5 separate regions of the Homo sapiens genome follow, and regions 2, 3, 4 and 5 are each linked to region 1. The links are contacts of gene promoters, found by promoter capture Hi-C in blood cells and fetal thymus (Javierre and others, 2016). All regions are on one chromosome and are shown on one strand. The core of a region is centred on a gene start or on the middle of the fragment in contact, and the rest is flanking DNA. Distances in the headings are between cores, read along the strand shown. Region 1 holds the start of SLC22A12 (solute carrier family 22 member 12). Region 2 holds the start of RPS6KA4 (ribosomal protein S6 kinase A4). Region 3 has its middle 11 kb from the start of LINC02723. Region 4 holds the start of LOC105369341 (a long non-coding RNA gene). Region 5 overlaps LINC02724 (long intergenic non-protein coding RNA 2724).

What was found. The method cuts DNA at HindIII sites, captures the fragments that hold promoters and counts their contacts. A CHiCAGO score of 5 or more calls a contact.
Region 2: the fragment with the promoter of RPS6KA4 here is called in contact with the fragment with the promoter of SLC22A12 in region 1 in 2 of 17 cell types (M0 macrophages and monocytes); the score reaches 7.0 in M0 macrophages.
Region 3: a fragment that was not itself captured here is called in contact with the fragment with the promoter of SLC22A12 in region 1 in 2 of 17 cell types (M1 macrophages and M0 macrophages); the score reaches 7.1 in M1 macrophages.
Region 4: a fragment that was not itself captured here is called in contact with the fragment with the promoter of SLC22A12 in region 1 in 1 of 17 cell types (M1 macrophages); the score reaches 6.2 in M1 macrophages.
Region 5: a fragment that was not itself captured here is called in contact with the fragment with the promoter of SLC22A12 in region 1 in 1 of 17 cell types (M0 macrophages); the score reaches 5.4 in M0 macrophages.

The regions. Positions count from the first base shown.
Region 1 is chr11:64,587,916-64,593,318 of GRCh38, forward strand. It overlaps SLC22A12 (solute carrier family 22 member 12), which reads left to right and starts at 3,305. Exons shown (of 10, transcript NM_144585.4): 1 at 3,305-4,043; 2 at 4,864-4,967. The coding sequence starts at 3,642. The HindIII fragment of the contact is 38,603 bases long and covers 1,045-5,403 here.
Region 2 is chr11:64,357,762-64,363,164 of GRCh38, forward strand. RPS6KA4 (ribosomal protein S6 kinase A4) reads left to right here and starts at 1,401. Exons shown (of 17, transcript NM_003942.3): 1 at 1,401-1,529; 2 at 1,617-1,688; 3 at 2,402-2,620; 4 at 2,716-2,831; 5 at 3,373-3,480; 6 at 3,708-3,788; 7 at 3,881-3,984; 8 at 4,091-4,241. The coding sequence starts at 1,475. RefSeq lists a silencer at 1,187-1,676 and enhancers at 1,426-1,953, 2,687-2,796. The HindIII fragment of the contact is 11,991 bases long and covers 1-5,403 here.
Region 3 is chr11:64,381,696-64,387,098 of GRCh38, forward strand. No RefSeq gene overlaps it. Among named protein-coding and RNA genes, the nearest start is that of LINC02723, 11 kb to the right of the region's middle. The HindIII fragment of the contact is 775 bases long and covers 2,355-3,129 here.
Region 4 is chr11:64,417,131-64,422,533 of GRCh38, forward strand. LOC105369341 (a long non-coding RNA gene) reads right to left here and starts at 3,085. Exons shown (of 4, transcript XR_001748069.2): 1 at 3,007-3,085; 2 at 1,173-1,235. It overlaps LOC124902689 (a long non-coding RNA gene), which reads left to right and starts at 1,006. Exons shown (of 2, transcript XR_007062720.1): 1 at 1,006-3,492; 2 at 3,602-3,940. The HindIII fragment of the contact is 311 bases long and covers 2,811-3,121 here.
Region 5 is chr11:64,450,992-64,456,394 of GRCh38, forward strand. LINC02724 (long intergenic non-protein coding RNA 2724) reads left to right here. Exons shown (of 2, transcript NR_073177.1): 2 at 1-666. Among named protein-coding and RNA genes, the nearest start is that of LINC02724, 4.6 kb to the left of the region's middle. The HindIII fragment of the contact is 3,672 bases long and covers 552-4,223 here.

The sequences.
Region 1 (5,403 bases), core at 2,055-4,554:
CTAGCATTCCAAGAAGAGGTACAGGCTAAAGATGTGAATGGACCAGATGATAGAGAATATAGAGAAGACCAAGGAGTGAGCTCAGTGGCCTCCAATGTTAACAGTGTGTGGAGAAGAGGAAAACCCAACCAAGAAGATTGAGAACTAGTGAGTCCTGGAGGCCCAGGGAAGAAAGTATTCTCAGATGGAGATCAGAGACAGATGGCTCAAGTAAGATGAGGACTGAAAATGTCATTGAATCTAGCAGCATGGAGGTCATTGGTGACAGCAGAGTGATAGGGGCAAAACCTTGATGGGAATGAATCCAAAAACAAACAAAAAAATGGGAAGACAGAAACTGGAAATGAGTGTCAATAATACTTTCATAGAATTTTGTTGTAAATACAAGCAAAGGTGGGGCAGTCGCTTAAGAAGAAAGAGGGGCTCAAATGGAGGGGGAGTTTTTGGAAGGCTACAGAAAAAAATGGCATATTTGTACATTGGTGGAAATTATCCAGTAGCGAGGGAAAGACAAATGCCAAAGAGAGATGTGAGCAGGCAAAGGGGGGTGGGCTCTAGGCACACAGTGAGGGGTTGGCATGGATGAGAGAGAAACCAAACTGGGTGGAAGGAAGGCAGAATGTGGGGGCACCAAGGCAGGTGAGCTGGTGAGAGAATTAGACTGTTGGCTTCTGATGGCTTCTATTGTTTTAGTGAAATAAGAAAAAAGGTCATCTATTGAGAGAGAGGATAGAAGAGAAGGTGGTAGGTTTGAAGAGAGAAGATGGTATCAAATAACCCCTGGTTTGTGTGTTCAAATATAAGGGTAACAGAAATAAAACGTACAACTGACAGACCAAGACAGTAGAAGAATATAACAAGAAAACTTAATGGATTCAGTAGAAATTAGGAACAAGGAAACCAAGATTTAAAGGGAAAATGTGGTAAACAAGAAAACATACAGTAAGTCCAAACATGTCAATAATTACAATAAATGTGAACAGGTTAAAATCGCTAATTAAAAGGCAGAGGTATTTCTTTTGGATTTTACAAAAGGAAATGTAAAGCTTATTTGGCAGCTCAAGCTGATGAAGCTAAACATATCAGTTACTAAAACAAAGTCTGCACATATTTACACCAAACTGTAAACAGTAGTGTAACTCACTGGTTGATGAGTATATGAGGGATCTTTATTTTCATTTCAATATGTTCTGAATTTTTGAGGAAGTGTGTAAATTATTTCATAATTAGAAAATAAATGAAATTTTTAAAAAAATCATCCATGCACTTCAGCAAGTCTCCATGGAACCTTTATTTGTTGTCCAAATCAGTTCCAAAGAGCCTCTAAAGAAGGGTTCCAGACTACCAGGAGCTCACTGGAAATAAGACCAACTGGACCATAATAGAAGAATGCAGGTCATGGCTGGGTGCCGCAACTCACACCACTTTGGGAGGCCAAGGCAGGCAGATCACCTGAGGTCAGGAGTTTGAGAAGAATGCAGGACAGTGTAAAGATGAGATTCCACTGACAACTCTGAGCCCTAGTTGTAGGCAGGAATAAGTGAAGAGAGCCCGCTGGAGGAGGAGTATTTGGACTGTGCCCATTCCACACAGTATGTGGCCTAAGGGTGAGCCTGGAGACAGCATTCCAGGCTGGAGGTCCAACATAAGCAAGGGTGGGAACTGAGAAAGCATGTACAGGGCATGTGGTGGAAGCAGTGGATGACTCAAGGTGCAGAGCCCAGGGAGGCAAAGAAGTTGGCTTGGTAAGCCATGTGGAGGGGCAGCGGGAAGAGTCGGTGAAGCAAAAAGAAGCAGATGGGAGGGGCATTTATGCCTCAAATGGAGAGTTTTATGCCCAAAGCTCATAAGAGCAAACACCTGGGTTGCCATCACTGCTGCACTGCACATATACGCATGCACACATGTACACACATGCACTTGTGCAAACACATGTGCACACATACACAGACATGTGCACACACCCACATATACATACACTTCTTTTTTTTCTTTTCTTTTTTTTTTTTTTTTTGAGATAAGAGTCTTTCTCTGTCAACCAGGCTGGAGGGCAGTGGTGCAATCTCAGCTTGCTGCAACCTCTGCCTCCTGGGTTCAAGAGATTCTCCTGCCTCAGCCTCCCAAGTAGCTGGAATTACAGCTGTGCACCACGACCATGCTCAGCTAACTTTTGTATTTTTAGTAGAGATGGGTTTTTGCCATGTTGGCCAAGCTGGTCTTGAACTCTTGACCTCAAGTGATCCCCCCACCTCGGCCTCCCAAAGTGCTGGGATTACAGGCATGAGCCACCACGCCCGGCCATGCACACACACTTTTTAACTGCTTTGTGTTCTCTGGCCCTTTCGCCTACAGAATTAGCTATCGAGACCAAGGGGGTTCTCTTGGCCTCGGTCCAGCCTTTCCTGAACCCCACACCCTGCATCAGCACACACTGCTGTCCACTCACCTGCCCTAGTAAGTCACCACTAGCTGTTGTTGACTGGGAGCCCCTTGGCTTTTAAGCAGGATTTGACCCAAGGGCTCGCAGTGCGTGGTGGGTCCAGGGGCAGGAGTTGAGGCAGAAAGACAAGGGCAGGGACAGCTGTGGAGTGGGGGAGGTGGGAGAGAGAAATCCTTAGGAGGCAAAACTAGCCAGGCTTGGCCCCTGGTGGATTTGGGAGGCAGGGAGCAGGAGGCGTGAACCAAGACGCTGGGTTCCAGGCCAGACACTGTGACATGAGAGGCCATAGCTGAGGTGGGGCTCTGCAGGAGGCATAGATTTGGGGAGGGGACAGAGATCTCAGGGTGGCATTGGGCACACCGAACCTGGGGAGTCTGTGGGGTGTCTGTTGATGCTGGGAAGCTCCACCGAGGACTCAGGACAGGGTAACAGCAAAGCGGGCACAGGACGCCAACCACAGCAGGTGAGTGGAGGCAGGAGCCACGGGTGGGGCCAGGCCACACAGCCTGGGAGGCGCAGGGGCTGGGCAGCTGCCAGTGACCCAAGCCCACACAGAGACTTGCACAGCTGCCCCAGCCCCAAATTAGGGGGATCCCCTGGCCCACCTTCTCTTGGCTCAGCCACTCTGGGAGGTGGGCACACAGGGGCACCGAAGGGAGCAGGCAGCCCTGGCATCCCACAGCCGCCAGGAGAAAAACTTAGGCCTCCCCAAGACCTGGCACAGAGCAGGCCGGCCCTGGCCCCCAAGCAGAGGAGGCTGCACCTCCCTCGCGTCTGTGCCTGCCTCAACGCGGGTTAAACTTTGACCAAGGAAATGATTGCTAAACTCGATTCCATAAGTGTCACCGGTCACACTTTAATTCCAGTCTAAAATTAAAGTCTTCAGTCTCCACATTCCCTACTTTCCAAATTCAGCTTTCCCGGGAGGTCTGGAGCAGCTGCCTCTCTGGGGAGATGCTGGAGGTCTCGGAATCACCTCACGCGGCCTCAGGGCCCAGTTGGAGCCACCCCAAGTGACACCAGCAGGCAGATGACCAGAGAGCCTGAGCCTCCGGCCCCGAGTCTGTGAAGCCTAGCCGCTGGGCTGGAGAAGCCACTGTGGGCACCACCGTGGGGGAAACAGGCCCGTTGCCCTGGCCTCTTTGCCCTGGGCCAGCCTTTGTGAAGTGGGCCCCTCTTCTGGGCCCCTTGAGTAGGTTCCATGGCATTTTCTGAACTCCTGGACCTCGTGGGTGGCCTGGGCAGGTTCCAGGTTCTCCAGACGATGGCTCTGATGGTCTCCATCATGTGGCTGTGTACCCAGAGCATGCTGGAGAACTTCTCGGCCGCCGTGCCCAGCCACCGCTGCTGGGCACCCCTCCTGGACAACAGCACGGCTCAGGCCAGCATCCTAGGGAGCTTGAGTCCTGAGGCCCTCCTGGCTATTTCCATCCCGCCGGGCCCCAACCAGAGGCCCCACCAGTGCCGCCGCTTCCGCCAGCCACAGTGGCAGCTCTTGGACCCCAATGCCACGGCCACCAGCTGGAGCGAGGCCGACACGGAGCCGTGTGTGGATGGCTGGGTCTATGACCGCAGCATCTTCACCTCCACAATCGTGGCCAAGGTAGGGCCTCCCCCAGAGCCACTCGAGTCCCACCACCTTGGAGGTCAGTCATGGATCACGGTGGGTCAGACTCAAAGGTCCAGTCCTGGGAGGGACCCACCTCCCCAGGCCCCACTCACTCTCGAGCCTCTCAGCCCCTCGTCAGCCACACACAGGGAAGTGGGCGGCAGGGATCAGTCTACAAATGGGGCCAGCCCAGGCTCTTGGAGGTGCGGGGGGCACCTGGGCGGGCACCTCTAAATGCTGGCACCTGGACACTCACCGGCCTCACCCTGTCCTGGCCCTGCTGACCTGTCAGCCGTGACTCCAGGCAACTCAGCAGCAGGGGGACTCAGTGACAATTCACTGGATTCCCCGAGACCAAAGCACACAGAGTAAGGGATTACCCCAGGCTGCCTCCCAGATGGGGCGCCAGGCAAAGCCAGGCAAGCAGAGAGGGGCAGCTCATCCCAACAAGTGGGAAGAACCTCTTTATAAAGAACAGGAGGGAAGCAACCTCTGGGAGAGGGGTGAGGGTGTCAGCTTGGGTGGCTGCTTCCAAGTGGAGAGACAGGAGAGAGGGGCAGATGTGGCTAGAGACCCATTGGGCAATAGGGAGCCATGGAAGAGTTCAGGCAGAGGGTGGCAGGATATACTCCTCAAAAGGCCAAACTATGCCTGTGGGTGCCCTCACTGTTCCACAGGGTCTTGCTCTAAAACCCTAGAGGTCACCAGACCACCCACCGCACCCAGCTCCCTGGGGGCCCTCCCATGCGGTTCCTCTGCCTCTCTGCTGGGGCTCTCCCAACCTCCTGAGCTCAGCCTCCTCCTCTCCCATCAGTGGAACCTCGTGTGTGACTCTCATGCTCTGAAGCCCATGGCCCAGTCCATCTACCTGGCTGGGATTCTGGTGGGAGCTGCTGCGTGCGGCCCTGCCTCAGACAGGTGAGTACCCCCAGTCCAGGCAGGTCCCAGTTCCCCTCACAACCCCTGCTCTCCTAGGACCCTGGCCGACTGGCCCCAAACCAGCCTCACAAAACCAAGTCTAGAAAGCGCCCTACTTGCTGGGTGTGGGTCTCGGACCAGCCACCCTGCAGCCGTGCCAGGTAGGGAGGTCTGGAACCTTCTCTGAACCTCGAGTTCACCAACTTTACTCTGGGGGTTGTAGAGGATTTCTGCTCCCCAGCAAACATTCACTGCTAAAACTGGCTTGGCCATGCGCCTTCCTTCAGCAGCAACCTGAGTGCTCCTGGTGACTGGAGCCCATTCCCTTTGGCTCTGGCCTCGGGACTCTCCTTGTGCTCCGGAGGGTTCCGTAGGTGGAGAATGTAGGTTTCACCCAGGTGCCGCTTCAGTGTCCGCCTCAGCTCAGCGGGCAAGC
Region 2 (5,403 bases), core at 151-2,650, 230 kb before region 1:
ATCTGGGCTCAGGGGTGTGGGGCAGTGAAGCCCCTGTTGCCCCGCCCCCACCCTCTCCCAGGGCACTGTCTTCTCTCTGTTCACATCCTCCTCCTACTCATCTCCCCTCCCTCCTTGAGGTTGAGCCCCCTCCCCAGGGAGTTCTCAGCCTGGCGGGGCATCACTTAATGCCAGGGGTTGCCAGGAGAGGTGGGAGGGACGCTGGCTCTCTGACCAGGGCCTCTAGCCTGATGCCTGAGAGGCGGGGCAATTCGGCTGGGGTGCAGGATGTGAGTCAGGGTACCTGGGGCCACCCAGGGGAGGGTGGAGCTGCCCAGGGCTGAGATAAGGCAGCCTGAACTTGGGGGGTGCAGAGCTGGGAGGGACGGTCCGTCCGGCCTCCCAGGTGTGACCTGCAGCAGCTTGAGTTCCTCCTCCTCTCAGCCAGGGCTTCACAGGACAGGGGCGTGGGGTGGACACCCTGGCCTCTCCAGCTGGCAGAGGAGCTGAGAGCCCCTCCCACCGGCCTCAGGGTGTGGGGCCTCATGGCTGTCCCACTCTGCTAGGTGGCCCCATTGGTGGTCAGGAAGGGAAAGGCAGGAAGAAGACGGAGCAGGGGCTCAGGAGGACCAGTCAGCAGGGGCCCTGGGCCTCATGGGGAGAGGGGGCAGCCCCGTGTGGCACTGACATCTCTTCTTGAGGCCTGCTCAGGGCTCTAAGCTGGGTACTGCACCAGGCTAGGAGACAACAGGAGCAGAACACGTGAGGTGCGCATGGCACCTGGTGGGCTCTGCACGGTGACTGGGGGCTGAAGTGCTTCTGCAGGCACCCCCGACAGAAAGCTGGTCAGAAAACTGGCCACTCCTCTCCTTGCCATGGGGTCCCAGGCCGGGCTCCAGCCCCCTCTTGGTGATGAGGCTCCTCCTTGCAAAGGCCAGTCCTCTGGGGAGAGGGGCCCTGCTGGCCACCCCCAGGACGATGGAGTGGGGTGGGCTCCACTGCCTGAGAGTTGGGTGACTTCCAGGATCCAGACCCCCTCTCAGCCTGCCCAGCACCAGGCACCTCGTCCCCCACCTTGGGGCACAGACTCCTAATGTCCTCCAGCCACTGGCTGCAGCCGGCATTCCCGGGCAGATTCCTGGCTTGGGGACTAATGCCCCAGAGGCTCCAGGTTACCCACGGGCTCAGGGATGGCTCCCACGGGGTGTTTCCAGTTCCCGGGAGAGTCGAGTAAGGTCCCGGAGCGCACGGCCCTGAGGCCTGGCCTGGGGGCTCGGGAGACAGGGCGGCCCCAGCCGGCCGCCCACCGGCAGCCCGGCGCTGTCACGTTCCAGCCGCCTGACTCAGGCCGCGCAGGGCGGGGAGCCGGGAGGCGGTGCCGGCGCCCGCCTCGGCCCCGGAGGCGGCACCAGGAAGCGCCCGCCCCGGCCGGAGCCGCCATGTAACCGGCGCCGCCCGGAGCCCGAGCCGCGCGGGCCCCAGCGACCCGCCCGCCATGGGGGACGAGGACGACGATGAGAGCTGCGCCGTGGAGCTGCGGATCACAGAAGGTGGGTGTGGGGCCTGACTGCGGCTGCCCGGGGCAGGCCGGGACGGGTCATGGACCGGCTGGGCTCATTCGCCCCCTGTGCCCACAGCCAACCTGACCGGGCACGAGGAGAAGGTGAGCGTGGAGAACTTCGAGCTGCTCAAGGTGCTGGGCACGGGAGGTGAGGACCCCCATCCACCGGGCAGGCGTCCCAGGCGCGGTGCCCCTGACCTCCTGCCTGCTCACTCTTGGGCCTGGGCCAGGCCACTGAGCAGGCCCCCCACCCTTTCCCGGCACAGCCTGCCTTGCCTGCCCCGCCCTGCCTCGCCAGAGTTTGCATGCCCACTTCCAGGGCACTCCACATTGACATCACTCCTCCCTCCACGGTCCTGTGCGTGCATACCCCCCTGGATTTGCCAACACCCTGGGGAGGGGGACTGGCGCCCCTCTCAAGTGATTTGCATAGCTCCTCCCTTTCTTCCAATATGGGATCCCCCTCCCACATTTTGCAAATGCCCCAGCGCTGGTTTGCGCATCCCTTCCCCAGCCAGGTGCACACCTCTGCCTCCCTTCCTTGCACTGGCATCTTTTCACATCCATCTGATCTCTCGCAGGTTTGCATATGCCCCGCCCCCATGCCTCGCAGCAGGCCCCCTGGAGATGCATGCTCCCCAGCCTGGTTTGCACATCCTTTCCCTGGTTTTGCTGGGCACCCTCCCGGGGTGTGCACACCCTTTCCTTAGAAGGCTCTGCCAGCTTTTTGCACACCTGCCTGTTGCCCCAGCTCCTTCGCCTCATTTGCACACCCTCCTGGGTTGGCATCGCCCCCACCCCCCAAGCCTGCACCAATCTCCCGCTCACAGCCCACCCTCCACCCACTCGCTGCTCCCACAGCCTACGGCAAGGTGTTCCTGGTGCGGAAGGCGGGCGGGCACGACGCGGGGAAGCTGTACGCCATGAAGGTGCTGCGCAAGGCGGCGCTGGTGCAGCGCGCCAAGACGCAAGAGCACACGCGCACCGAGCGCTCGGTGCTGGAGCTGGTGCGCCAGGCGCCCTTCCTGGTCACGCTGCACTACGCTTTCCAGACGGATGCCAAGCTGCACCTCATCCTGGGTGAGCGCACACCACATCCCAACGGGGTTGGGGTGGCTGGGGGCAGGCGAGGCCACCTGACGGGGCTGCTTCCTGACTTCCACTGCACCTCCCAGACTATGTGAGCGGCGGGGAGATGTTCACCCACCTCTACCAGCGCCAGTACTTCAAGGAGGCTGAGGTGCGCGTGTATGGGGGTGAGATCGTGCTGGCCCTGGAACACCTGCACAAGGTGGGTGAAGACCTGGCCGCAGGCTGTTGCTATGGAAACTGGGTCTGTGCCTTGGAAGGAATCTGCACGCAGGGCAGCCTCAGGCTTCCCCCTGGGCTTCCTGGGGGGCCAGTGGTGAGCTGGGTGGGAATTGGAGCTGCTTCCCCTGGACCCCTTGCAGGAAGCCTCAACGTTGCCTGGTGGGGTCCCCTCCCCTGGCACCTCCTCGAAGGGGCTTTCCTCTTTCAGGGAACTCGGGGCTGCGTTCACAGAACTTCCTCAAATGGAAACCTCACGGCCTGGCTCCTAAGGCCTCCTTGAAATGGAGCTCTTCACACAGACTTTCCTCTCTCTGGGACCTTGGGGCCTGATCCACGGGGCCCTCCTTCTTTGTTTTATATCTTAAATGGCCTTTCTTATTCAGTGGCTCTGCCCTGGAGACCCCCTCTACAGGCAGATGACTTTCTCTGGGGGGTCTCCTTATCCTGAGCAGGGCCAGGAGCTGGAGGAGCTGGGGAGGGTTTCGGGGAGGAAGCCTCAGCACCCCTCTTGCTCCTACCAGCTCGGCATCATTTACCGAGACCTGAAACTGGAGAATGTGCTGCTGGACTCCGAGGGCCACATTGTCCTCACGGACTTCGGGCTGAGCAAGGAGTTCCTGACGGAGGAGGTGAGTGGAGGCCACCTCTGCCTGCAGTGCCCCATTCAATCCTTCTCCTTCCTGCCTCTTCCTGCTCTGGGCCTGCATTCTGGGGCTGCAGAAGTGAATAGCTCCAAGAAGTTTCCACAGCTCAGCTCTCCAACCTCACAAGTTGAGCGAGTCTTACTCTGGGCCTTGTGGGGCACTGGGGCACAGGAGAGGTTTCGACATCTAAGCAGGACCTCTTGCCCTCCCAGAAAGAGCGGACCTTCTCCTTCTGTGGCACCATCGAGTACATGGCCCCCGAAATCATCCGTAGCAAGACGGGGCATGGCAAGGTAGGTTGGCAGGGAAGTGGGGCTGGGGGAGGTGGAAAGGTGGGGTGTGAGGCAGGGGAGATGCAGGCCCTCACCCCGGCTCCACCCGGCAGGCTGTGGACTGGTGGAGCCTGGGCATCTTGCTCTTCGAGCTGCTGACGGGGGCCTCGCCCTTCACCCTGGAGGGCGAGAGGAACACGCAGGCTGAGGTGTCTCGGTGAGTAGGGCTGGACGTGGAGGGCGGCCAGAGGGCTGCAGGGCCTGCCTGGGCAGGGCTGTGGGTGGGGGGCTTGCTGCCCCTGACACCCCCCCAATCCTCCCAGACGGATCCTGAAGTGCTCCCCTCCCTTCCCCCCTCGGATCGGGCCCGTGGCGCAGGACCTGCTGCAGCGGCTGCTTTGTAAGGATCCTAAGAAGCGATTGGGCGCGGGGCCCCAGGGGGCACAAGAAGTCCGGAACCATCCCTTCTTCCAGGTGAGGCTGACTCAGGGCCCCATACCTCCTGGTGCATACCCAGGTGGGGCTGCTGTTCCAGGTTGAGGTTGTGCCTGGCCAGTTTCACTTTATTTGGAAATCCCCCCAGAGAAAGAAAGCAAGTGTGTGTCAGCTAGGTTTCTCTTCACATCCATCCCCACTGAAACTTGGCAGATGTGTTCCTGAAAGAAAGGATTCTAGGTTCATTGGCTGTTGGGGCTGTCAGGGATTTGAGAATGGATTGGTCGGTCCTTTCACTGGACAGACCCAGAGAAGGCAGGTGACCTGCCCCCGACGGCACAGTAAATGGTGCCGAGTTGGGAATAGACCTTGGGTCTAGATAGATCTCCTGCTGGTCCAAATCAGTACGGAAACCCACACTTATGGCTTTTAGCACCCACCCAGGCATTTTGTTCTTTGTCCCCGTCCCTGTACAGTCTGTGTGCCTGTCATTCAGATGGACGGTTGATCAGCACACATGGGTGTTTGCTCACTTGTTAGGAGCACACACATGTTAGAGTGCAGTGCAGAGTGAATCTGGCCATGCGAGAATGCACTGACTCAGGGGCTGGGCCTGGCCAGCGTCATCGCCCAGCAGGACTTTGTAACAGTCAATACCTACTGTGTGTCGGCCCTTTGCGGACATGAACTCATTTCACCCTCACAACTACCTGATTCTTATTTTTTAGACGGAGTTTCACTTTGTCTTCTGGGCTGGAGTGCAGTGGCACGATCTCGGCTCAGTGCAACCTCCACCTCAGGGGTTCAAGCGATTTTCCTGCCTCAGCCTCCCAAGTAGCTGGGATTACAGGCACAGGCCACCACGACTGGCTAATTTTTATATTTTTAGTAGAAACGGGGTTTCACCATGTTGGCCGGGCTGGTCTTGAACTCCTGACCTCAAGTGATCCACCTGCCTCATCCTCCCAAAGTGTTGGGATTACAGGTGTGAGCCACCACGCCCTGCCACAACCACCTTGATTTTTGTCCCCATCTTTACAGATGAGGAAGCTGAGGCTCCAAACAATTAAGTACTTTGTCCAGGAAGTGATGGAGCTCAGATTCAACCCAAGGCTGAGAGGCTTGAATGCCTGTGCTTAATGGTCTTCTGCTTAAGTGTAGGCATCAGATTTGCCATCCGTCTGACATCTAAACAAAAGCA
Region 3 (5,403 bases), core at 1,492-3,991, 210 kb before region 1:
AAAAGTTAAGAAGACCCATCGGTGTTTTTTGTTTGTTTGTTTAGTTTTTTTGTTTTTTTTTTTTGTTTGTTTTTTACTGTGTCTCACTCTGTTGCCAGGCTGGAGTGCAGTGGCATGATCTCGGCTTACTGTGACCTCTGCCTCCCGGGTTCAAGCGATTCCCCTGCCTCAGCCTCCCGAATAGCTGGGACTACAGGTGCACACCACCATGTCGGGCTAACTTTTTGTATTTTAGTAGAGACGAGGTTTCACCATGTTGGCCAGGATGGTCTCTATCTCCTGACCTCGTGATCCGCTCGCCTCGGTCTCCCAAAGTGCTGGGATGACAGGCATGAGCCACCGTGCCCGGCACCCACAGGTGTTTTTACCTAACACCTGCCTCGCCTAAGGCAAGTACTGCCTGTTTGAATGGGCCGTGGTTTAAGGAAAAGGGGGAAATAGAGAAAAAAGAAAAAAAAAAACAGATGAAGAGCTCAAAGAACGATCAGGCATGTACGCATGCATGAACATTATTAATGTGGGAGTGGTTGTAGATTCCTCCCCATTCATCCTGCTTCCTTCTCCAGAGATAAGGATTTTTACTGGAGAGGGGACTGGTCTTTGTCTCAGGGCAGAGAGGCGTGGTAGGTCCCTCCTGCTGCAGCCCAGTGGGGCAAAGGGAACCAGGGGCTCTTGGACCCAGGCTCTAGGGACTTGGCCCGAGGCTCCCAGGCTTACCCTGGGAGCATTACCATCCCAGGGAGATGGGGGTGAAGGAGAGTGTGGGGATATTCTGGAAGTGATGTACATCACTGCTGACCGTGTCATTGGCCAGACTTGTCACCTACCCTCCTCACCTCCCTCCCCCGATGCAGAGGAGGTGGAGAAAGGGATGGATGTTGGCAGACCGTCCCTTCTTCTCCTTCCCGTGATCATCACATCAAATCACCATCATGTCTTCTCTGGACACCACGATTCCCTACGAACGATGTCCCAGCATCTCCCACCCCTCCTCCATACGGTCCTCCATATAGAAGCCAGGGGAGTTAAAACAATGAGAGCAACACATATCTAATCTTTCAACTTCTGTAGGATAAAGCCCACGCCTCTTTCCATGACTCATGCAGCCTGGCCCCTGTTACCTTTCCAGTCCCCTTTCTCACCATCTCCTGCCATGGGCTCTGCTCTGGCCAAATCAAACCTCTTCCAGGTCCTCAAATGCATTGTGCTCATCCTTTGCACTTGCTGTTCCCTCTGTGGGGCACGCTTTCCCCTTCTCTTGGCCAGGCTGATGCCATGTCATCCGTCAATGCTCGGATGGCTTTATTTCTCAGAGCAGCCCCTCCTGACCCCTCCACTAGCCTACAAGCCCCGACTCTTTGTGCCGTCAGTAGGCAGCAGTTCCCACCGAAGCAGCCGTCCCTGTGTGTTGCTGTCATTGTCTTTTCTTTTTTTGGAGACAAGGTCTCGCTCTGACGCCCAGGCGGGAGTGCAGTGGCATGATCTCAGCTCATGGCAACCTCCGCCTCCCAGGTTCAAGCGATTCTTCTGCCTCAGTCTCCCAGGTAGCTGGGACTACAGGTGTCCACCACCACGCCCAGCTAATTTTTGTGTTTTTAGTAGAGATGGGGTTTCACCATGTTGGCCAGGCTGGTCTCGAACTCCTAACCTCAGGTGATCCACCCACCTCGGGCTCCCAAAGTGCTGGGATTACAGGCATAAGCTACCACACCTGGCCTGTTGTCATTGTTTAATTATCAGTCTCTCTGCCTGGGATATGAGCATGGCGGGGAGGGACGAGACTGTCCTCATCATTCACCATTGTATCCTTGGTGCCACATCATCCCTGGCACATAGTAGGTACTCTGGCGATGTTTGTTGAGTGAACAAGTGAATATACTTGTAGATTCAGCCATTCCCTAGCAACCCCAGTTAAGCCCCCTGCCTGGGGTCAACCCAGACCATCACTGCTCTCCTCTCCCCATCTAGGTGCTCAGGGTGGGCTGGCCAGGTGTGCAGGGCCCCTTTCTCAGGCTGCCCTGCACATCCCGTGTTTCTCTGGATGCTGCATGTGTCACAACAGCTCTGCCACCTGCAGGCTGTGTGGCCTTGGGCAAGGCACACTCCCTCTCTGAGCCATGGCTTCTTTATTGACTCTTAGATTCAGTTCTGCAGAACCCTGGTGCTCTGAGGAGGTCTCCATGAGCAGGGTAAGGGGAGGCTGGATGGCTGGATAGTCCCTCCGCTTCAACCAGAGTGGCTTTGCTTTGATGTGTTTCTTATGCTGGGGTCAAATATAAGATTCTGTTTGGAAAGGGCTCTGCTGAAAATAGTAGTGACTATATCTCTAAGCTAGAAGATGAAGCGGGTCTCAAAGCTTAGCTTCAGGAGTTTCCCTGAAGGAGTGTGAAACCCATCTCCATCAATTCCTAGCTAAGTGACCTTGGGCAAATTACCGACCCTCTCTGTGCCTTAGTAACCTTATCCACGAAATGAGGCAATAATGTTGGCCGCCTCGTGGCATTGCAAAGATAAGGTCAAGTAATGCATGCCAAGCACTTGGAACACCTCCTAGGCAGAGGGCAGGAGGGCCCCTGGGATGAGTGAGGCATGGAGGTTGTTGCCATTCAAGCCAGGCCGACTCAGGCTGGCTCCCACAGGACGGCGCGTAGGTGCAGGTGTGAAGTGGTCTTTCAGCACATTTTCATGGAAAGAAGCCTTTCCTTTCAGATTCCTGAAAACCTCAGAGCTAAGGACTTTTCAGCGGGAAAGTCAGGGAGGGCAGTTTCCATAAGTGCACCTCACACTGATGCTGGCGTCTGACAGCTTCCCCCATAACACTGGACCGAAGGTGGGCGGGGCGCGGGCCAGCTCTGTGGGTTTGCTCTGGGCGGTTTGAAGACAGCAGTCACCAGGCCAGGGCCTCTGTGACCCCTCCCTCCTGCCTGCTCCCTGCGGTGCCCCCACTCTTTCTGATTCTCCCTGGGGCCTGGGAGACAGTGGGACACCCTGGGATGCCTGAAACTGCAGGTTGAGAGGCAGCCAGGGAGTGGGGTCCTCTGGGAGGAGCCTCAGGCAGGTTTCTGGGCCCCCTGTAACCGGCTGAATCAGAATTTCAGGGAGTGCAGTCTGGGAATCTGCTTTTTAAAAAGCTTCCCAGGGTCATGTGCAGTGACTCATTCCTGTAATCCCAGTACTTTGGGAGGCTGAGGCAGGAGGATTGCTTGAGGCCAGGAGTTCAAAGTTACAGTGCACTATGATTGTACCACTGCACTTCAGCCTGGGTGGCAGAGCAAGACTCTGTCTCAAAAACAACCAAAAAGCAACCTTCCATGGTGTATATTCAAGCTATGGAGCCACAGATCTCATCTCATGAACCTCCTGAACTTTCCTAATGGGGAGACCGAGGCACAGAGGGGAAGGGACTTAGCCAGAGCCACAGGGCTGCCGACTGGCAAAACCAATTCCCGTGATGCCCAGCTGAGGCTTTCTCCCTCCCTGGGCCACACTTGCTGTAATGTGGAATTTTCCATAGGGACACAGATCCAATTTTATACTAGGAGCTCTCAGAAACCAGTATTCTCTGCCAGAATTCCCTGCCATCACCCACTTTAGTGGAAAGCTGGTATTCTACAGAGTAAGGGGTGTCTGCTATGTCCCCCACTCCCACCACACCATTCACAGGTCCTCAGAGCCTCTCTGTGTTATTTTTCCTGCCCAGCGGGGGTCAACAGGTATCTGGCAGGGCCTGCTCACCAACAGATGTCCCTGTAGACCTGTCATAAGGCAGGCTGCCGGGAGCACACTGGACACAGAGGGGAGGTGGGGAGAAGCTGCCTGGGAGCCAGTGAGACCAGGCAGGCACTGACTGCTTAGCGGGGGCAGGCGTTTCTCCACCGAGAGAGTTGCAGATGCCAAACAGACTCTGCAGCTCCGAGCTCTCCAATCTGCCTCAGCGGGGTCTTCCGTGCCCTGCATCTCCCCTGGCTGGGGCTTGGAAGCTCAGCCCGGAAGGTTCTTCTTGCCTGAGTGAGTCAAGTCCAGAGAAAGTGTCCGTGGTTGCCTGTGGAAAGAGGAAGCACTTTCTGGCTATTTCCTTTAATAACAACAAGAGTAGCGATGACGTTGAGCCCATTTATTGAGCCTCATGATGTGCCAGGCCCTGTGCCACACAGGTAGAAGGTCACACATAGGATCCCTGCTGCTGCTGTTGTTAATAGTCATGGCCAATGTTATTACTGAATCCTTCTCTGTACCAGGAGCCAGGCACCGGGCCCAGCACTGTCTATAATTTCCTTTCATGAACAGGTTCTACATTATCATCATCTGCAATTGTTTCCATGTTGTGGATGAAGAAAATGAGGCTTGGAGAGAGAAAGTAAATTGTCCAAGGTCACACAAAGGCATCCACAGGCATTGGCCCTAGAGCCTGGGCCTCCCTACTTGAGAACTAAGCCCTTAACCACAGTGGTTGAGCGGTTATGCTGCCTCTCAAGGTTATCTCCTGCCTAAGAGATATTTCTTTCTAGCAGATGTGTGGTGGTTCGCTTTCCTCTGCAATCCGTTTTAGCTCTCTTTGCCCCAAGGATCTGGTTCTCGCTCCGACTCTGCAGAGCCTAGAGCTCCATAGACGCCAGCCCCGGGCTCTCTTTGCTGGAGGTGGCATGGCAGCTCCATTTGCTGTCTTTGTGAAATAAATCATGTCAGTCATGTGACAGCGCACTGTCCCTCATCATAGCCTAGCTTTCCATTCTGATCCACAACTTGGTACCTCAATGTGAAGACTGTGGTCTGGAATGACAAGATTCCAGAATACAGCCATGAGTCACTTAGCCATGGGGACACGTTCTGAGAAATGCATTGTTAGGTGATTTCATCACTGTGTGAACATCAGAGTGCACTTACACAAACCTGGATGGGTAGCCCGCAACACAGCTAGGCTAGATGGTACAGCTGATTGCTCCCACACCACAAGCCTGTATGGCAGGAAGTGCTGAGTAGCAGAGGCAATTGGAATAGAATGGTATTTGCGTATCTAAATGTATCTAATCATAGAAAAGGTGGCACATTGCACTATGATGATATGATGGCTATGAATGACATCACTAGATGAGAAAAATTTTTCAGCTCCCTTATAATCTTTTATTTTTGTTATTTTTCTTTTCTTTCTTTCTTTCTTTCTTTCCCTCCCTCCCTCCCTCCCTCCCTCCCTCCCTCCCTCCCTCCCTTCCTTCCTTCCTTCCTTCCTTCCTTCCTTTCTTTCAAAAAATAAAAGCATACAGACAACCTCTTGCTATGTTGCCCAGGCTGTAGTCAAACTCCTCGCTTCAAGCAATCCTCCTGCTTTGGCCTCCCAAGTCCCAACCATGTTAGCCAGGCTGGTATCGAACTCCTGGCCTGAAGTGATCTGGCCACCTCAGCTTC
Region 4 (5,403 bases), core at 1,716-4,215, 170 kb before region 1:
GAAAAGCTGCATGACATTGGATTTTGCAATGACGTCTTGGTTTTGATACCAAAAGCACAGGCAACAAAAGAAAAAAAATAGATAAATGGAACTTTGTTAATATTAAATATTTTGTGCATCAACAGACACTTTTTTTTTTTTGAGACAGGGTCCTGCTCTGTTACCCAGGCTGGAGTGCAGTGGTGTGATCTTGGCTCACTGCAACCTCCAGCTCCCAGGTTAAAGTGATTCTCTTGCCTCAGCCTCCTGAGTAGCACCACCACACCCGAGTAACTTTTGTATTTTTAGTAGAGACGGGATTTTGCCATGTTGGCCAGGCTGGTCTTGAACTCCTGACCTCAGGTGATCCACCCGCCTCAGCCTCCCAAAGTGCTAGGATTACAGGTGTGAGCCAATGCGCCCAGCCTGATAGGGAGTTAATATCCAAAATGTATAAGGAACTCCTACAACTCAACAATGAAAAACAAATGAATTAAAGAATGGGCAAAGGACTTGAATAGACATTTCTCCAAAGAAAAACATGAAAGCACATGAAAAGATGCCCAGCATCGCTAATCATTAGGACACAAATGAAAACCACAGCCAGATACCACTTCACACCCAGTCAGATGCCTATAATAAAAAAAAAAAACAGCACATGTTGGCGTGGATGTGGAGACTTTGGTAACTGTGTGCCCTTCAGGGGAAAGTGTAAAATGATGAATTTGCTTTGGAAAATGGTATAGTGGTTCCTCAAATAATTAAACATAGAACTACCATATAATCCAGTAATTCCATTTCTGAGTATATACCTAAAACAATGGAAAGCAAGACGTTGAAGAGATTTGTACACCCATGTTCCTAGCAGCATTCTTCACAATAGGCAAGAGGTGGAAACAGTGCAGTTGTCCATTGACAGATGTATTAGTCAGTTTTCATGCTGCTGATAAACACATGCCTTAGATTGGTTAACTTTTTTTTTTTTTTTTTTTTTTTTTGAGATGGAATTTTGCTCTTGTTGCCCAGGCTGGAGTACAACAGCTCAATCTCGGCTCACTGCAACCTCTGCCTCCCGGGTTCAAGCAATTCTCCTGCCTCAGCCTCCTGAGTAGCTGGGATTACAGGTGCCCGCCACCACGCCCAGCTAATTAAGACTGGTTAACTTATAAAGGAAAGAAGTTTAATTGACTCACAGTTCCACATGGCTGGGGAGGCCTCACAATCATGGTGGAAGGCAAGGAGGAGCAAAGTCATGTCTTATGTGGCGGCAAGGAAGAGAGAGAAATGAGAACAAAGCAAAAGGGGTTTCCCCTTATAAAACCATCAGATCTCATGAGACTTATTCAATACCACGAGAACAGCACAGAGGAAACCGCCCCCATGATTCAACTATTTCCTCACTGAGTCCCTCCCGCAAGTGGGAATTATGGGAGCTACAATTCACGATGAGATTTGGGTGGGGACACAGCCAAACCATATCAACAGATGAATGGCTAAGCAAAATGTGGCCTATCCATACAGTGGAATATTGCTCTGCCTTAAAAAGGAAGGAAATTCTGACACATGCTACGCGTGGATAGACATTCAGGATCTCGTGCTAAGTGCAACGAGCCAGTTATGAAAGGACAGATACTGTAGGATTCCACTTATAGGAGGCACCTGGAGTGAGATGCATAGAGTCAGAGAGTGGAATGGTGGGTGCCAGGGGCTGGGGGAGGGGCAAATGGGGGGTTAGTGTGGAGTTCTGGTTGGGAAGATGAAAAAGTTCTGGAGCTGAATGGTGGGGATGGTCACACAACAATGCACTTAATGTCACTGGACTGTATACTTAAGAATGGCTAAAATGATAAATTTTACGATATACATATTTCACCACAATAAAAGTTAAAAAGAATAATTTAGATAAACCCTGGGAAGGTGTTCATCAAGGTTTCCAAAATGCCAGGTGGTCCTGGTCTTAGTCAGGTGTCTGGATGGAGAATGCTGGTGCCCCAACTCCTCCTCCTGTCTGTGCCCACACGCAGTGCTGGGCCGGACACTTGTCTGTCCTGAGGGGAATGTGCAGCCTCTGGGCCTCCCTGGAGAGAACAGGTGAAGGAATGCCTGGGGCTCTCTCTGTGCCCTCCTCGGGAGGAAACGGGACCCAGGCGATCTTGGACAGAAGCAGGGTCCCGAGCAGGGGATCACTAGCTGCTTCCGTCCGTCTCTCTTCGGCCCTCCTGTCTGCCAGCTGCACCTCTGCTCTCTTCCAAGGGGCAGCCCCCACCAGGGGCAGTTGTCCAGCTCTTGTGCCTGGGCCGGCACTGGCAAGTTCATTTCCATGGGCATAAGCAGTCTCCATTCTGGCTTGGCAGCAATAAACCTGGCACTGGATGTTGTCCTGGTCCATACATATGTGCCAATCGGTCCAGACTCCTAGAGCTCAACAAATGGTCCTGTGAGAGCCTGGCGCTGTGTGAGCCCGGGAAGGCAGTGCAGTGCAGTGGCCAGGTCATGTCACCCAGGCTAGGGCTTGGCCTTCTGGGGAGCACAGCGAGGGATGGCCTGCCCTAAGGAAGGCCCTCTCTGAGGTGGGGATGGTTTTCCAGGGTTCCCTGGGCTCCCAGGTGCTCCCTCCTCCCCTGTACCCCACTCTTCCATACCCCGGGGCTCATCCCTTCTCCACTTGGGTCCTTGTTCCACTGAAAATCTCCCCCTACCCTCCCATCTCATGGTTTTCTTCCTCCCCGCTGGCTCTGCCTTCCCTTCAACCAGCACCAATGCCAAAATCAGCACCAGGAGCTGCCATTCATATCGTCTCTACCATATGCCCATTTGAATCCTTATTGACAAGCTTGTGACCTTTGTCAAATTAGTGACCTATCTGAGCCTCAGTTTCCTTTCCTGTAAAATGGGCACATTAATACCTATTTTACAGATGGTTGTGAGATGGGTCGTGCCTGACACCATTTGGCGCTCAGCCAACTCTTGTTTGTTTCGTCGATTCTGCTGGGTTGCCTGGCATTTTGATTTATCTTTAATTCATACCTTTGAATCTGCTGTAAACTTGGCAGCCACATCACCAAGCTCGTTAGATTGCAGGTTGGGAAGCCTAATTAGGTTCTAAGGAGGTTAGAAATCTGTCCTCAGGGACAAGTTCTCAAGCTTTAGAATGTGGACTCATGACGTCATTTTGGTCCCTGGAGGCATTCTTCTCTAGCTGTATGTGGGAAGCTCTGTGTTCCAGGCTGTGAGGCTGCCAGGCAACAAAGTTTCCCAAGTCTCAAGGAGCCATGTTGTGAGTGTTTGACAGCCAGGTCTTGGAAAGGAAGGCCAACATGCCCTGGGCTGATCAGACTCCATCATGTTGACTCCTGGGAGGCACATTTTTGAGAAACAATTAGGAACCAGGAAGCATTCTGAGGAGGAAAGCCAGGATAAAGAAGACTCAGATAAAAAAGTCATCCCACCAGGTCTGGATGCAGTGTGACTGTATCAGTCAGCTTTTGCTGGGTTATGCCAAGTAACAAACAGGTACCAAACTCAGTGGCTTATAATAATTATAATAAAAAGGGTTGTTCTTATTAATGTTGCACATTGCCTGCAGTAGGTGTGAGCCTGTTCTATGTTTTTTTCATTCTAGGATTCAGGCTGAAAGATCAGCTATGAAACTGCTGGTTTTGAGGCACAGGAAAAAGAGTGATGGCAGAACTGAGAAATGACTTTAAAGCCTCTGCTCAGAAGTGGCTTATATCCCTCTGTTCACATTTTATTGGCCACAGAGAATCACATGATCAAATATGTCTTCAGACTTGATGGGCTTAGGGAGATACCATGCTCCCACAGGGAGGGGTGGTAACTATTTGGCCAGCACAGAGTAGATACCAACAGTTATTAAACTGTTTGTTGAATGAATGAATAGATGAATTCTCTGATCCTGGAAGGATTTAAATAAAGAATGGATGACCATTTGTATTACCTATCTATTGCTGCATAACAAATTATTAAAAAACAGTCTGGGTGTGGTGGCTCTCACCTGTAATCCCAGCACTTTGGGAGACTGAGGTGGGAGGATGGCTTGAGCTCAGGAGTTTGAGATGAGCCTGGGCAATGGAGCAAGACCTCATCTCTATTAAAAAAGTTTATTAAAAAACTTAGTGGCTTAAAGCAACAATAAACATTTATTATCTCACATAGTGTCTGTGGGGCAGTAATTCTGGAATGGTTTACTTAGCAGGATGGCTCAGATTTGAGGTTTCTCATGAGATTGTAGCCAAGTTATTGATCAGAGCTGCAGCCATTTATAGGCTCCACTGCCAAAAGGCTCTGATTCCAGGATGAGTCACTGACATAGACGGGGAATTGGGACTGGCTGTTAGCAGGAGGCCTCACTTCCTCACCATGTGGCTTATCCACAGGGCTGCTTGAGTGTCCTCACAATATGGTGGCTGAATTCCTCCAGAGCAAGTAATCCTGGAAAGAACAAGACAGAAGCCACAATGTCTTTAAAGCTTCAGAAGGCACACACTATCATTTCTACAATATCCTACTGGCTACACAGGTCTTCCCTATTCGATGTGGGAAGGGACTAAATAAAGGTGTAAATAGCAGGAGGGGATATCATATGGGGCCATGTAGGAGGCAGTCTATCATAGCTCACCCTCTGGCCCCCAATAAATTATATCCTTTCCACATGTAAATACTCTTACCTCCTCCCACAGCCTCCAAAATTCTCATCTTATTAAAGCTCAAAGTCCAGAATCTCATCATCTAAATCAGGTTCAGATGAGGCTTCTAGGGTAAGGCTCCTCAAGTACAGCTCTTGAGAATAGTTTTGCTTGATCTGAAGACATGTGAACTAAAGAGGCAGTTATCTGTATCTCTGTATCTCTGTACCCTGCAACATACAACAGTGTGAGAAGCATAAGATAACCATTATAGACATTCCCAATTCGAGAAGAGAGGCACATAGAGCTGTTTGTGGTGGTGTGTGCCTGTAGACCCAGCTACTCGAGAGGCAGAGGCAGGAGGACCACTTAAGTCCAGGAGTTCAAGGCCAGCCTGGGCAACATAGTGAGGCCCTGTTTAGAAAAAAAATAAAAGGAGGCACACAGGAGTCACTAGCACATAGCAATTCTTAAATCTAGCAGACCACACATTGGAAGTTACTACACTAGGACTTCAGGGCTGGAAATAATTCTCCTTGGCTCTTGGCTCTGCCCTAGGGACTGTTGGCTTTGTCTGGGGGCTGAGTCACCTTTTCTTTTTCATGAAAGGTGGCTTATCTTAGCAGATGATTGGTTTTCTTAGCTTTCTTCTTACCTATAGAAAAGAAGTCCAAAGTCTTCTTTTTATTTTGTATTGTGTCTGTTTCTTTCAGTCCAAACTAGCAGTGCTTCTGCCAATACAATTCTTGTAAAGCCCTTTTGGGTCCCCTATGAATCT
Region 5 (5,403 bases), core at 1,138-3,637, 140 kb before region 1:
AGCCTCCCGAGTACCTGGGATTACAGGCATGCACCACCATGCCCAGATAATGTATTGTTTTTTTTTTTTTTAGTGGAGATGGGATTTTGCCATGTTGGCCAGGCTGGTCTCGAACTCTTGACCTCAAGTGATCTGTCCACCTTGGCCTCCCAAAGTGCTGGGATTACAGGTGTGAGCCACAGTGCCCAGCACTTGAGGCAGTTCTTGAAAGCTTGGAAGAAGTGATAGTGCATAGGCGATGAAGTGGAGATGTCAGAACAGCCCTGGAGGAAGGTATGCAAAGTCTCAGAGAAGTGGACACGCCAGAATGGCTCTTCTATTGTAGGTTGTACAGGAAAACAGTGTGACAAGAGTGATGCCATCTTAAAACCGCCATATGATGATGAATGTTTCACCCCCATATACCAAGCTGCTCTGCAGTAAGCTCTTTAAACAATGCCTGTACCATACATAACCCTTTGTAAAGATGCTTAGCTAACCCCCTCCCCAAGTGGCTATGAGTTTTGCATTAAAATCGGAGATATGGCCACCTGCACATGTTTTACCCTAAAAGCTTGCTACATAAAAGTACTTTCTGCAGGGCAGATGTGGGGATCTACCATTTTGTGGCAGCCCGGAACATCGCTTCTGCTCCTAAGTCCCTATTAAATATTTCTTTACAAGAAACTGGATTTGTCAGCCTCTTTCTTCAGCCTCTCAGCTCCCTCGGCCTTTGCAGGTAGATTTGCACAGACCTGTTCACCACGAAACAGGGTGGAAAACCCACCAGCTGGCCATGTTCTTTGGAAGGTTCCAGCTCTTTACCCAAATGATAAGGCCTGAGCTGTCGAGGAGACATTGGCGTTGCTGAGCAGCCCTGTGAGGGTTGCCCGGGCCTGGCAGGGGTGGGCTGCCATGGATCTGAGCTCTCCCATAGCCACAGGGACAACTGGATTCCCGAGTAGCACAGGTCAAAGGGCAGCACTTAACTGTCTGTCACAAGCAAGGGGGTGAGAGGATCAGAATGGACAGCAGGGTTGGGACAGCCGCGGGGGAGCCTGCCCTGCCCAGCCTATGGAGATGGCTCATAGGACATAGCATTTCCAGGGGGAAGGTGTCTAGGCAGCCGGCAAGGATTTTGTTCAACAAATAGAATGAAAAGCAACCAAGAATCGATGAGCAGAAGTCCAAGGCCGGATGCCCCAACAGAAAGGAATGATCCCCTGCTGTTTCCAAATCTGAACTTGTTCTCAATCTCAGAATCCATCAGTGGAAGAGGGGCAGGTCCCAAGAGGAAGGACCCCGCAGCCATACCATCCCCCAGGACTGTATCGGTTTCCTGGGGCTGCTGTAAAAACCTGCCCCAGACTGGGTGGCTTAAACAATAGAAATGCATTGTCCTGGCCAGGCACGGTGGCTCACGCCTGTAATCCAGCACTTTGGGAGGCCAAGGTGGGCGGATCACAAGGTCAGGAGATCGAGACCATCCTGGCTAACACGGTGAAACCCCGTCTCTACTAAAAATACAAAAAAAAAAAAAATTAGCCAGGCGTGGTGGTGGGCGCCTGCAGTACCAGCTACTCAGGAGGCTGAGGCAGGAGAATGGTGTGAACCTGGAAGGCAGATCTTGTGGTGAGCCAAGATCGTGCCACTGCACTCCAGCCTGGGCGACAGACCGAGGCTCTGTCTCAAAAAAAAAAAAAAAAATGCATTGTCTCCCACAGTTCTGGAGACTGGAAGTCCAAAATTGAGGCATCAGCAGGGCTGGCTCCCTCCGAGGGCCGTGAGGGGTGTCTGCGCTGCCTCTCTTCTAGCTCCCTGGCAGTCTTAGGCGCTCCCTGGTTTAGAGATGCATCACCCCGACCTCTGCCTTCATCTTCCCGTGATGTTCTGCCCATGTGCTTACTTGTCTCTGCGTCCAAATTCTCTCCTTGCCCCACCCATTTTTTGTTTTTTGAGACAGGGTCTCACTCTGTCTACACTCCAGGATGGAGTGCAGTGGCACGATCATGGCTTACTGCAGCCTCGACTTCCTGGGCTCAAGCGATCCTCCCGTCTCAGCCTGCTGAATAGCTGGACTATAGTTGTGCACCACCACGACAGCCTAATTTTAGAAATTTTTAGAGATGGGGTCTTGCTGTGTTGCCCAGGCTGGTCTCAAACTCCTGGCCTCAAGGGATCCTCCCACCTCCAATTTCCCCTTTTTATAAGGACACAGTCGTAATGAATTAGGGCCTATCCTAATAACCTCATCTTAGCTTGATCATCTGCAAAGACTCTATTTCCAAATAAGGTCTCATTCACGGTCCTGGGGATCAGGATTTCCCCAGTACCGGGGGAATGGTGGAGGCATGATCCAACACATAACAGGGAACTTAGCCATTTTCTCCAGCAGCCGTACACTGGGAAGAGGGCATGGCCAGCTCTGGTCCTGTGGGAATTGGGTGGATGGAGTTAGAAAAGCAGGGGATTTATGGAGGTAGTACCTGTGACAGGTAAAGGAGGGGGCAGGAGGGGGCTGGGGACTTTCAGGCTCTGAGGAGGGTCTGACACCTGTGAGAGGAGATGAGGAAGGAAGGAGGATTGGGTAGGAAAAGCCTTGGACTGCAGTGCAGCTTGGAGGGAGTCTGGCCAGCCCAGCAGGGGCTCTGGAACCAAGATTGCTCAAAGAGGAGTCCCACGTTGGGAAGGAATGCCAGGGTCTCCTACCCCTGCTGCAGGTAGGCACTGGCTGGGAGCTGCCTGGGGCAGCATGACCTTGGCTCAAACACTGTCACCCATTGTGGAGGCTGTCAGCTCACTGCCCTGTGGCAAGGGGGTGCTGAGTGGCATCTCCAGGGCTGCCACAAGGGGGTTTCCCAGATCTTTCAGGGACTTTTGGATATAGGGTTCAGATTGACATTGACACCCAGGGACCCAAAGGCTGTCATGTTAACCATAGAGTAAAGATGTAATAGGAACCAGGTAATAAATGGAGTCCTGGCCTAGGTCCATCTCACAATAGGCCTCCGGTGTGTCCAGAGACGTACCATGTGGTCATTCCCCCAGCTCCTGAATGTGTAAATGGAGTAGAAATTCCTGGCAGGTGGGAGAACCTTCATGTTGGTTCCTTGACCTATAGCGTGTGAGCTGTAGCGTTAGGCCCGATGGAAGCCCCTGAAACTGCCTTTCTCCTGCATCCCCCTCCCCACTGCCCCAGAATACGACACAGTCAATATTGCATTTGTGGAGGAAGGACAGAGATTAGTGCCATCTTCAGAGACTTAAGAATGCAGAAGAGGCTGGGCACCGTGGCTCACGCCTGTAATCCCAGCTCTTTGGGAGGCCGAGGCGGGCAGATCATGAGATCAAGATCATCCTGGCTAACACGGTGAAACCCTGTCTCTACTAAAAATACAAAAAAATTAGCTGGGCGTGGTGGCGGGCACCTGTAGTCCCAGCTACTTGGGAGGCTGAGGCAGGAGAATGGCGTGAACCTGGGAGGCGGAGCTTGCAGTGAGCCAAGATCGCGCCACTGTACTCTAGACTGGGCGACAGAGCGAGACTCCGTCTCAAAAAAAAAAAAAAAAGAATGCAGAAGGAGGGTCTTTGTCATAACTCTATTGAGCACACCAGTGTGGCCCCTGCAAAAACCATGTGCATTGATGCATTGTGGCATTATTGGAGAACCACGAATTTAACAGAGTGTTCTCCCCAAGTGTATCTTTTTTTTTTTTTTTTCCAGAGACAGGGTATTGCTGTGTTACCCAGGCTACTGGAGTGCAGCTGCACAATCCTGGGTCACTGCAGCCCTGACCTCCTGGGCTTAATAGATCCTCCTGCCTCAGCCTCCCGAGTAGCTGGGACTACAGGTGTACACTAGCATGCTTGGCTAATTTTTGTATTTTTTGTAGAGATAGCGTCTCCCTACTGAACTCCTGGGCTCAAGTGATTCTCCTGTCTTGTCCTCCCAAAATGCTGGGATTATGGGCATGAGCCACCGTGCCTGGCCCGTGAGTGCATCTTCTCTGAGAAATGGAGCATCTTTGCTGGAGCTGGGTAAGGTCATCACGGATCTATAGGATGCAGCTGTGTACATTCACGGCCTTACCCCAGGGCTACGTCAATTTTCCTGTTCTCTATCACAACATAGTCTGAAGGGATCCAGCCCATCGGGGCAGCCTCCAGGCCACCACATTGGTCAGTGCCAGGAGCAACATCGTGTTAACCAGACCTACAGAGCAAGAAGCAGCAGGTCCCTTGGAAGCTTTCGTAGAATATGTGGGGGAGGAGGATGGGGGGTTAATGGGAAGGCTCAGGGGCTGCCATGCTGTAGGGGTTTGACGGGGCCAGTGGTCTGGCCATGTCGGGCTATCTCCTGCAAAGTAAAGGGTGGTTACTGCACCTGTCCTTCCTACCACGTGGAAGGAGGCACGACTTCTGGCGGGACTCTTTGAATTTGGGGGTGGCATACTCAGCACTTGGGAATCCAGTTTTGGCCCATTTCTTGAGTGACACAGAAGGCTGCTAGTTTGGAGATGCAGTTCTATGAGCAAGTGTGCTTGGGACATGTGACTCTGCAGACCCTGTGCTACACGGGGTGTCTGTAGTGGAGAGGGTCACCACACGGTGTCCCTGGCAGGCCCCAATAGGAAAGCCACAGTGCAGACCCCGAGGGTGCTGGAACAACGCCACGCCATCTGCAGCAGAGAAGGGCTCTGGATGTGTCCCCAAGCCCTGGGAGAAACTGAGCATCTGACCAGGGGACATCAAGTGATCAAGTGGACACAGCTTTTCACCATGAGCTGACGAGTCACCAAATCACAAGGCCAGGCATCCGTCATGAGGCACAAGTGGCACATCAGGGATTGGGCTCCCAAAGGTCCCCAAGGCAGGAGCTACGTGGTCCAGACCCCCTGCCTCTGGCCATGCGGCACCAAGGCCTCCCCTCAGCTCACATCCTGGGGGGTTTTCCTGTGACCAGCGGAGATAGGCTGCAGTCTCACCCCAGCGGACGTGTTCCTGCGAGCTGAACGCGTGTGGCTGCTGCACCACAGCCCTCCCAGGGAGGCCCTCAAAGACAGCGGCAGGCCGTCGGCAGTGCACCTGGTGTGTGCACTTGTGCAAAGAGAGAAGTGGCTTGAGGAAAGAATGTACATGGGCTTGTGGACAGTGGACAGTGGCTTAGCTGGTGGGTCAGGGATCTAGAAGGAGCAAGACTGGAAGTTTAGGCCGGGCTCGGTGGCTGACGCCTGTCATCCCAGCACTTTGGGAGGCCGAGGTGGGCTGATCACTGAGGTCAGGAGTTCAAGACCAGCATGGCCAACGTGGTGAAACCCTGTCTTTACTAAAAATACAAAAATTAGCCAGGCATGGTGACGCATTCCTGTAATCTCAGCTACTCGGGAGGCTGAGGCAGGAGAATTGCTTGAACCTGAGAGGTGG